Linked DNA regions of Homo sapiens: region 1 is linked to region 2. The links are contacts of gene promoters, found by promoter capture Hi-C in human tissues and cell types (Jung and others, 2019). All regions are on one chromosome and are shown on one strand. The core of a region is centred on a gene start or on the middle of the fragment in contact, and the rest is flanking DNA. Distances in the headings are between cores, read along the strand shown.

Region 1 (3,599 bases), core at 617-3,116, 310 kb after region 2:
GGCGGGGCGCGGGGCTCCAGGACACAGCTGAGCCGGCGGTCAGAGCGAGACCTGCAGCAGAGACGACGGAGGCGGAAGCATCTCGATCCGGGAGGCGGCGGCGTGGGGAGCCGGGGCCGCCTGGGATGTTCAGTCATGAAATGAGTGCGTACCGAGGAGATCCAGATGGCAGTGTCCTGCTACCTCAAACGCTGGCAGTACGTGGACTCAGACGGTCCCCTGAAGCAAGGACTGCGGCTGCCACAGACTGCTGAAGAGTTGGCGGCCAATCTCACGGTACACAGAGAATCTCATTGTGCCGACATAGTGTCTGCAGTCCCTTGCCAGGCAGAGCCCCAGCAATATGAAGTACAGTTTGGACGACTGCGGAATTTTCTCATCGATTCTGATTCCCCGCATAGCCACGAAGTGATGCCTCTCCTTTATCCTCTCTTTGTCTGCCTCCATCTCAGCCTGGTCCAGAACAGTCCAAAAAGTACAGTGGAAAGTTTTTACAGCCGCTTCCATGGAATGTTTCTGCAGAAAGCTAGCCAGAAGGGCGTCATTGAGCAGCTACAGACCACTCAAACCATCCAGGACATCCTATCTAACTTCAAGCTTCGAGCATTCCTAGATAACAATTACGTGGTCCATCTCCAAGAAGACAGCTACAACTACCTTATCCACTACCTCCAAAGTGACAGCTATACTGCCCTGTGCAAAATGTTTATCTTACTTATTCATCTTGATGTGCAGCCTGCCAAGACAACAGACTAACAGCTGTATGCAAGTGGCAGCTCCTCCCGCAGTGAGAACAATTACTTGGAGGCCCCTGATATGCCCAGCCCTATTCTGCAGAACGATGCTGCCCTGGAGGTCTTACAGGAGCGCATTAAGCAAGTCAAGGATGGGTGTCCCTCCCTCACTACCGTCTGCTTCTATAACACCTAGCAGCTGTTGAACACTGCAGAAATCTCCCCTGATAGCAAGCTGCTTGCTGCTGGGTTTGACAACTCCTGTATAAAACTTTGGAGCTTACAATCCAGGAAGTTAAAATCAGAGTCCTGTCAAGTAGACATGTCCCGCATCCATTTGGCTTGTGATATTCTGGAGGAGGATGTGTGAATACCGTTTTTTCTTCCCTGCACCTGCCTTCCTAATTTGCTTAGAATGTCCTTACCAAACACGACATATCTTAGAATGGACTTCCTAATTTTCCTCATCATATAGCTAAAGCCAGACTAATGCCATGTAACCTGTAGCCATTGAATTCCTGCACATGCCTAACCTAAGGTGTAAAAACAATTTTTAGCAACGTAACTTAACATTATTAATGAATGGTAGTATTTATACTATCTGAAATGTGGATAACAACCCTAAGCCTAATTAAAGACCTTTAGCTAATAATGACTTTAGCTGAGATTTGCAGTAAATATGCACTTATGTGTGCGTACATTTGCTCAGGTATAAATAATTAGAAGTAAGATTACTGAGTCAAAGGGCCTGCATTGTAAACTGTAATGAATATTGCTTTTCCCACAGAAGGTTGTGCCATTTCACAGTCTCAGCAGCAGTAGTGAGAACACTGCTGTCCCTGCACCCTCACCACACTGGATGGTATTGCCTTTCTGAGGCCAGTCCGTATCCTGTGGATCCATGTACCCCAGGGTGTTCCCAGACCCCACTTTGAGAAGTAACACAGGAAGTAGAGTTGCTAGCTCTCCCCTGTCAGTCAGTGTTCAACCTTTTTTGGTTTGTAACCATTTAGTCATTGAAAAGGGCAGGCGCAGCTTGGGTTTCAGGTCACTGAAAATCACTACCTTAGAAAAAAATGTAGGCCAAGGAAGATAGAAATTAAACTTCACAGAGTTAACTTTCCTTCAGAGTGTTCCTGCGAAAGCTGTGGGCCAAAATATTTTTGTCTTATCACCACTGAAATTCAGGTAGCTCTGCCTCATGTTACTTTGGATGGAAAATTCTTTATACGATGTTAAAAACTTAAGGATCAAAAATATCACGCTAACTAAGTTACAGTTAATGATAAGGATATCAAGAATATTCGGTGTGCTAAATTAAGCCATTGTTTTCCTGTTTCTGTTTTCTGAGTCTGCGTCCAGTTAGTATGGCCTTTGAATTTTTGATTACTGCAACCGAGACAGTATAATTCAAGGATTTCCTTATGATGAGTAAAGAGTCTGATTCCTACGTAGAAGCTTTAATTTCTAGTATTTTTTTTAAACTAAGGGAGGAGACCACCCCTCATATTGTCTTATGCCAATTTCTGCCTCTAAAGAAAGAAGAAGTAAAAACTAAAAGGCAGAAATGAAATCCACAGGCAGATAGCCTGGCGCCATGCCTCAGGCCTGGTTAAAGATCCACCCCTGACCTGGCCAGGCGCAGTGGCTCACGCCTGTAATCCCAACACTTTGGGAAGCCAAGGCGGGTGGATCATGAGGTCAGGAGATCTAGACCATCCTGGTTAACATGGTGAAACCCCGTCTGTACTAAAAACACAAAACATTAGCTGGGCATAGTGGCAAGCGCTTGTAGTCTCAGATACTCAGGAGACTGAGGCAGGAGAATGGCATGAACCCAGGAGGCAGAGCTTGCAGTGAGCCAAGATTGTGCCTCTGCACTCCAGCCTGGGTGACAGAGCGAGACTCTGTCTCAAAAAAAAAAAAAAGATCGACCCCTGACCTAACTGGTTATTTTATCTATAGATTCCAGACATTGCATAGACAAGCACTGTGAAAATCCCCTGTGCTGTTGTGCTCCATTCTGATTACCGGTGTATGCAGCTCCCAGTCATATACCCCACTGCTTGCTCAATCAATCACGACCCTTTCACGCAGACTCCCTTGGAGTTGTAAGCCCTTAAAAGGGACAGGAATTGCTTACTCGGGGAGCTCGGTTTTTGGAGACGTGAGTCTGCCAATGCTCCTAGCTGAATAAAGCCCTTCCTTCTACAACTCAGTGTCTGAGGGGTTTTGTCTGTGTCTTGTCCTACTACATTGCTTGGTATTCTGACCAGAAAGCGAGGTGATTAACAGACATGGTCTAGGCAGCCCCTTAGGCAGCTTAGGCCTGCTCTGTGGAGCATCCCTGCAGGGGACTGCAGCCAGCTTGAGCAACATGGATCCTGAGAGCACTCCTGGGTAGGCATTTTCCCTGGTGGAATGCCTTGTTAGAGCAGAGCATGGCAGACCCCAATGGAGGATCAATATGGTGGCTGAACACCAGGAGGAACTGGCACTTGGAGTCCGGACATCTGAAACTTGGTAAGACTGGTCTTTAGACCTTGCCCACTCCATTTTAGTGGAAGCATGGCCTGATCACCCACAGCGTGCCTGTACCGGCACTTTGGTTTTTGTTTTTGACTTGACTTGGATTGCTTGATACTTCGGTTTTGGTTTTGACCTGGCTTGGATTTCTTGATACTCTGATTTTGGTTTTGATTCTGGTTTGGTGTAAACTGTAAAAGTGCGTGTGTGCCCTTTTTATCCGTTCTTTGTTTTGTGGTGTGCATGAGGTGTGAGTGTGGTGTTTTGTCTCAAGGAAGCATGGGTCAGGCACAAAGTAAGCCCACCACACTAGGAAATATGTGGAAAAATTTCAAGAAA
Region 2 (3,381 bases), core at 96-2,595:
TTTACCCCTTAGTTATGCCCTGATTCTAGGACCCAGCCTGGACTCCACATCCCTTGGTCCCAGGCTGGCCCCAGGTCTTCCACGTAGTCCCTCTCCACCAAGTCCCCAAGTCACCCTTGACTCTGAGAGGTATCCCTCTCCCACACCAGTTCTTTTCCAGTCACTTCTCCTCCCATGTTTGTCTTCAGTCTTTGCCTTTATTTATCCCTGTCCCTCCCAACCCCCGGGCTCCCAAGTTCTATCTCACTCCTCCACCCTCCCTGTCCTCTCACAGCTGAGGTTCTGGGCTGTAATGATGGCAATGCTGCCCAGCACAACCCCTGCCGCCACGATGTCAGAAGGTGCCACAGTCTCATGGAGCATATAATACTGCAGTATAAGGGCCACAACCACCTCGGAATGTAGGACAGCGCACACCAGGGCAGGGTGGGCCTTGGTGACCGCATAGCCCACACATGTGAAGGAGACCAAGGCGAGGATCCCCACTGCCCCCACACAACTCCAACTCAGGAGGTCACTGGGCAACACGGGGGCCTGCAGCACAAAGAGGCCTGGCACAGAGCCCAGCAGCCCCACCAAGCCAGATAGGAAGGCCACTGTTGGGAGGCAGGGGGGAAAGTGCAGAGAACGATAGACCAGAAGCCTCAGGGACAGCGCCAGGCCTCCCAGGAAAGCCTCCACATAGCCCAGGGCGGTGTAGACACCCGTGGTCCCCTCCTGTAGTGTCCAGAGTCCAGGTCCCACAATGATGATTAGTCCTAGGATGCAGCCCAACAGTCCACACCAGTCGTAGCCACTGAGACCCTGGCTCTCAAGGCAGAGAGTGAGGACGGCGGAGCAGACGGTGGAAGAACCTTTGCGAACAGTGGCAGCGTTGCCAGCGGGCACCACCTGAACCGCACTGTAGGCACATCCAATGCTGAGGATGTTGAGCAGGGCACAGAAGAAGGCCCGGCTTCGGATGTCAGGAGTTCCCAGAAGGGGGTCGCCACGCAGTTTAAGTAGCAGGGCAATAGGGAGGTGGAAGAGGCATCGCCAGATGAGCAGCTCCAGCGAGGGCAGGTTGGAAGCCTGGTAAGCCATACGAGAAAGGGGGCCCACGAAGCCAGCAGGCAGGCCCCCACCCAGCAGGGCCACCAGCAGGCCACTGGTGGCATCAGAGGGCTGGCAGCGCTGGTACCAGCGGAGGCTGGGTGGAGCGGAGGGCGGCGATGGGTGTGTGGAGTCAGGCTGGTTGAAATAGGGGTGACTGCCAGCCATCTTTCCTTGGACTTTCTCCTCTCCTCCTGGCTCAGGGAGCCTGGGCCCCTCAGAGCTCCAGCCATTGTGACCTCATTGGAGTGGGGGTGGGATTCTTCCCTGGAACTCTCCTGAGGTGGTAGCACGCCTATTTTCCCACTGAGTCCAACTCTGCTTCTTTTCTTTCTTTTTTTGTTTTTTGTTTTTTTTTATTGATCATTCTTGGGTGTTTCTCGCAGAGGGGGATTTGGCAGGGTCATAGGACAATAGTGGAGGGAAGGTCAGCAGATAAACAAGTGAACAAAGGTCTCTGGTTTTCCTAGGCAGAGGACCCTGCGGCCTTCTGCAGTGTTTGTGTCCCTGGGTACTTGAGATTAGGGAGTGGTGATGACTCTTAACGAGCATGCTGCCTTCAAGCATCTGTTTAACAAAGCACATCTTGCACCGCCCTTAATCCATTTAACCCTGAGTGGACACAGCACATGCCCCAGAGAGCACAGGGCTGGGGGCAAGGTCACAGATCAACAGCATCCCAAGGCAGAAGAACCCTTCCCAGTACAGAACAAAATGAAGTCTCCCATGTCTACTTCTTTCTACACAGACACAGCAACAATCTGATTTCTCTATCTTTTCCCCACCTTTCCCCCTTTTCTATTCCACAAAACCACCACCGTCATCATGGCCCGTTCTCAATGAGCTGTTGGGTACACCTCCCAGACGGGGTGGTGGCCGGGCAGAGGGGCTCCTCACTTCCCAGAAGGGGCGGCCGGGCAGCGGTGCCCCCCACCTCCCGGACGGGGCAGCGGCCGGGCGGGGGCTGACCCCCCACCTCCCTCCCAGACGGGGCAGCTTGCCCGGCGGGGGCTGCCCCCCACCTCCCTCCTGGACGGGGCGGCTGCCGGGCAGAGAAGCTCCTCACTTCCCAGACGGGGCGGCTGCCGGGTGGAGGGGCTCCTCACTTCTCAGACGGGGCGGCTGCCGGGCGGAGGGGCTCCTCACTTCTCAGATGGGGCAGCTGCGGGGCGGAGGGGCTCCTCACTTCTCAGATGGGGCGGCCGGGCAGAGACGCTCCTCACCTCCCAGATGGGGTCGCGGCCAGGCAGAGGCGCTCCCCACATCTCAGACGATGGGCCCCCGGGCAGAGACGCTCCTCACTTCCTAGACGGGATGGCGGCCGGGAAGAGGCGCTCCTCACTTCCTAGATGGGATGGCGGCCGGGAAGAGGCGCTCCTCACTTCCCAGACTGGGCAGCCGGGCAGAGGGGCTCCTCACATCCCAGACAATGGGCGGCCAGGCGGAGACGCTCCTCACTTCCCAGGCGGGGTGGCGGCTGGGCAGAGGCTGCAATCTCGGCACTTTGGGAGGCCAAGGCAGGCGGCTGGGAGGTGGAGGTTGTAGCTAGCCGAGATCACGCCACTGCTCTCCAGCCTGGGCAACATTGAGCACTGAGTGAATGAGACTCCGTCTGCAATCCCGGCACCTCGGGAGGCCGAGGTTGGCAGATCACTCGTGGTTAGGAGCTGGAGACCAGCCTGGCCAACACAGCGAAACCCCGTCTCCACCAAAAAAATACGAAAACCAGTCAGGCGTGGCGGTGCGCACCTGCAATCGCAGGCTGAGGCAGGAGAATCAGGCAGGGAGGTTGCAGTGAGCCGAGATGGCAGCAGTACAGTCCAGCTTCGGCTCCGCATCAGAGGGAGACCGTGGAAAGACAGGGAAACGGAGACCGTGGGGAGAGGGAGAGGGAGAGGGAGAGCTCAGGTATCTTATACATTGTTTTCTTTCCTTCTCTTCTTTTGATCTTACCCACTTTTTTTTACAACTTAAAGCTTTTTTTTTTTTTTTTTTTTTTGAGACAGGGTCTCGCTCTCTCACCCAGGCTCAAGTGCAGTGACACAAACATGGCTCAAGCCCAGCTAATTTTTTTTTTTTTTTTGTAGAGACAGTGTTTTATTATGTTGCCCAGGCTAGTCTTGAACTCCTGGGCTCAGGCAATCTGCCCACCTTGGCCTTCGAAAGTGCTGGGATTACAGGTGTGAGTGACCAGACTGGTCCCAAAACTTTTTTAATGTTTAAATTTTACCACTATACTAAGGAGGAGTTACCCATCTTTTAATTGCCTTTTTTTCTTCTTATTAGGGA

Evidence for each region. Contacts are between HindIII fragments. The study calls those that stand out against the background at their distance.
Region 1: a contact is called between a fragment that was not itself captured here and the fragment with the promoter of SLC35G3 in region 2, in 2 of the 25 tissues and cell types used here (mesenchymal stem cells and spleen).

The regions. Positions count from the first base shown.
Region 1 is chr17:35,498,081-35,501,679 of GRCh38, forward strand. The region is part of intron 2 of SLFN12L (schlafen family member 12 like); the gene reads right to left. It also overlaps the pseudogene TAF5LP1. Among named protein-coding and RNA genes, the nearest start is that of SLFN12L, 38 kb to the right of the region's middle. The HindIII fragment of the contact is 5,568 bases long and covers 1-3,599 here.
Region 2 is chr17:35,193,048-35,196,428 of GRCh38, forward strand. It overlaps SLC35G3 (solute carrier family 35 member G3), which reads right to left and starts at 1,346. Exons shown (of 1, transcript NM_152462.2): 1 at 1-1,346. The coding sequence starts at 1,260. The coding sequence ends at 244. The HindIII fragment of the contact is 5,493 bases long and covers 1-3,343 here.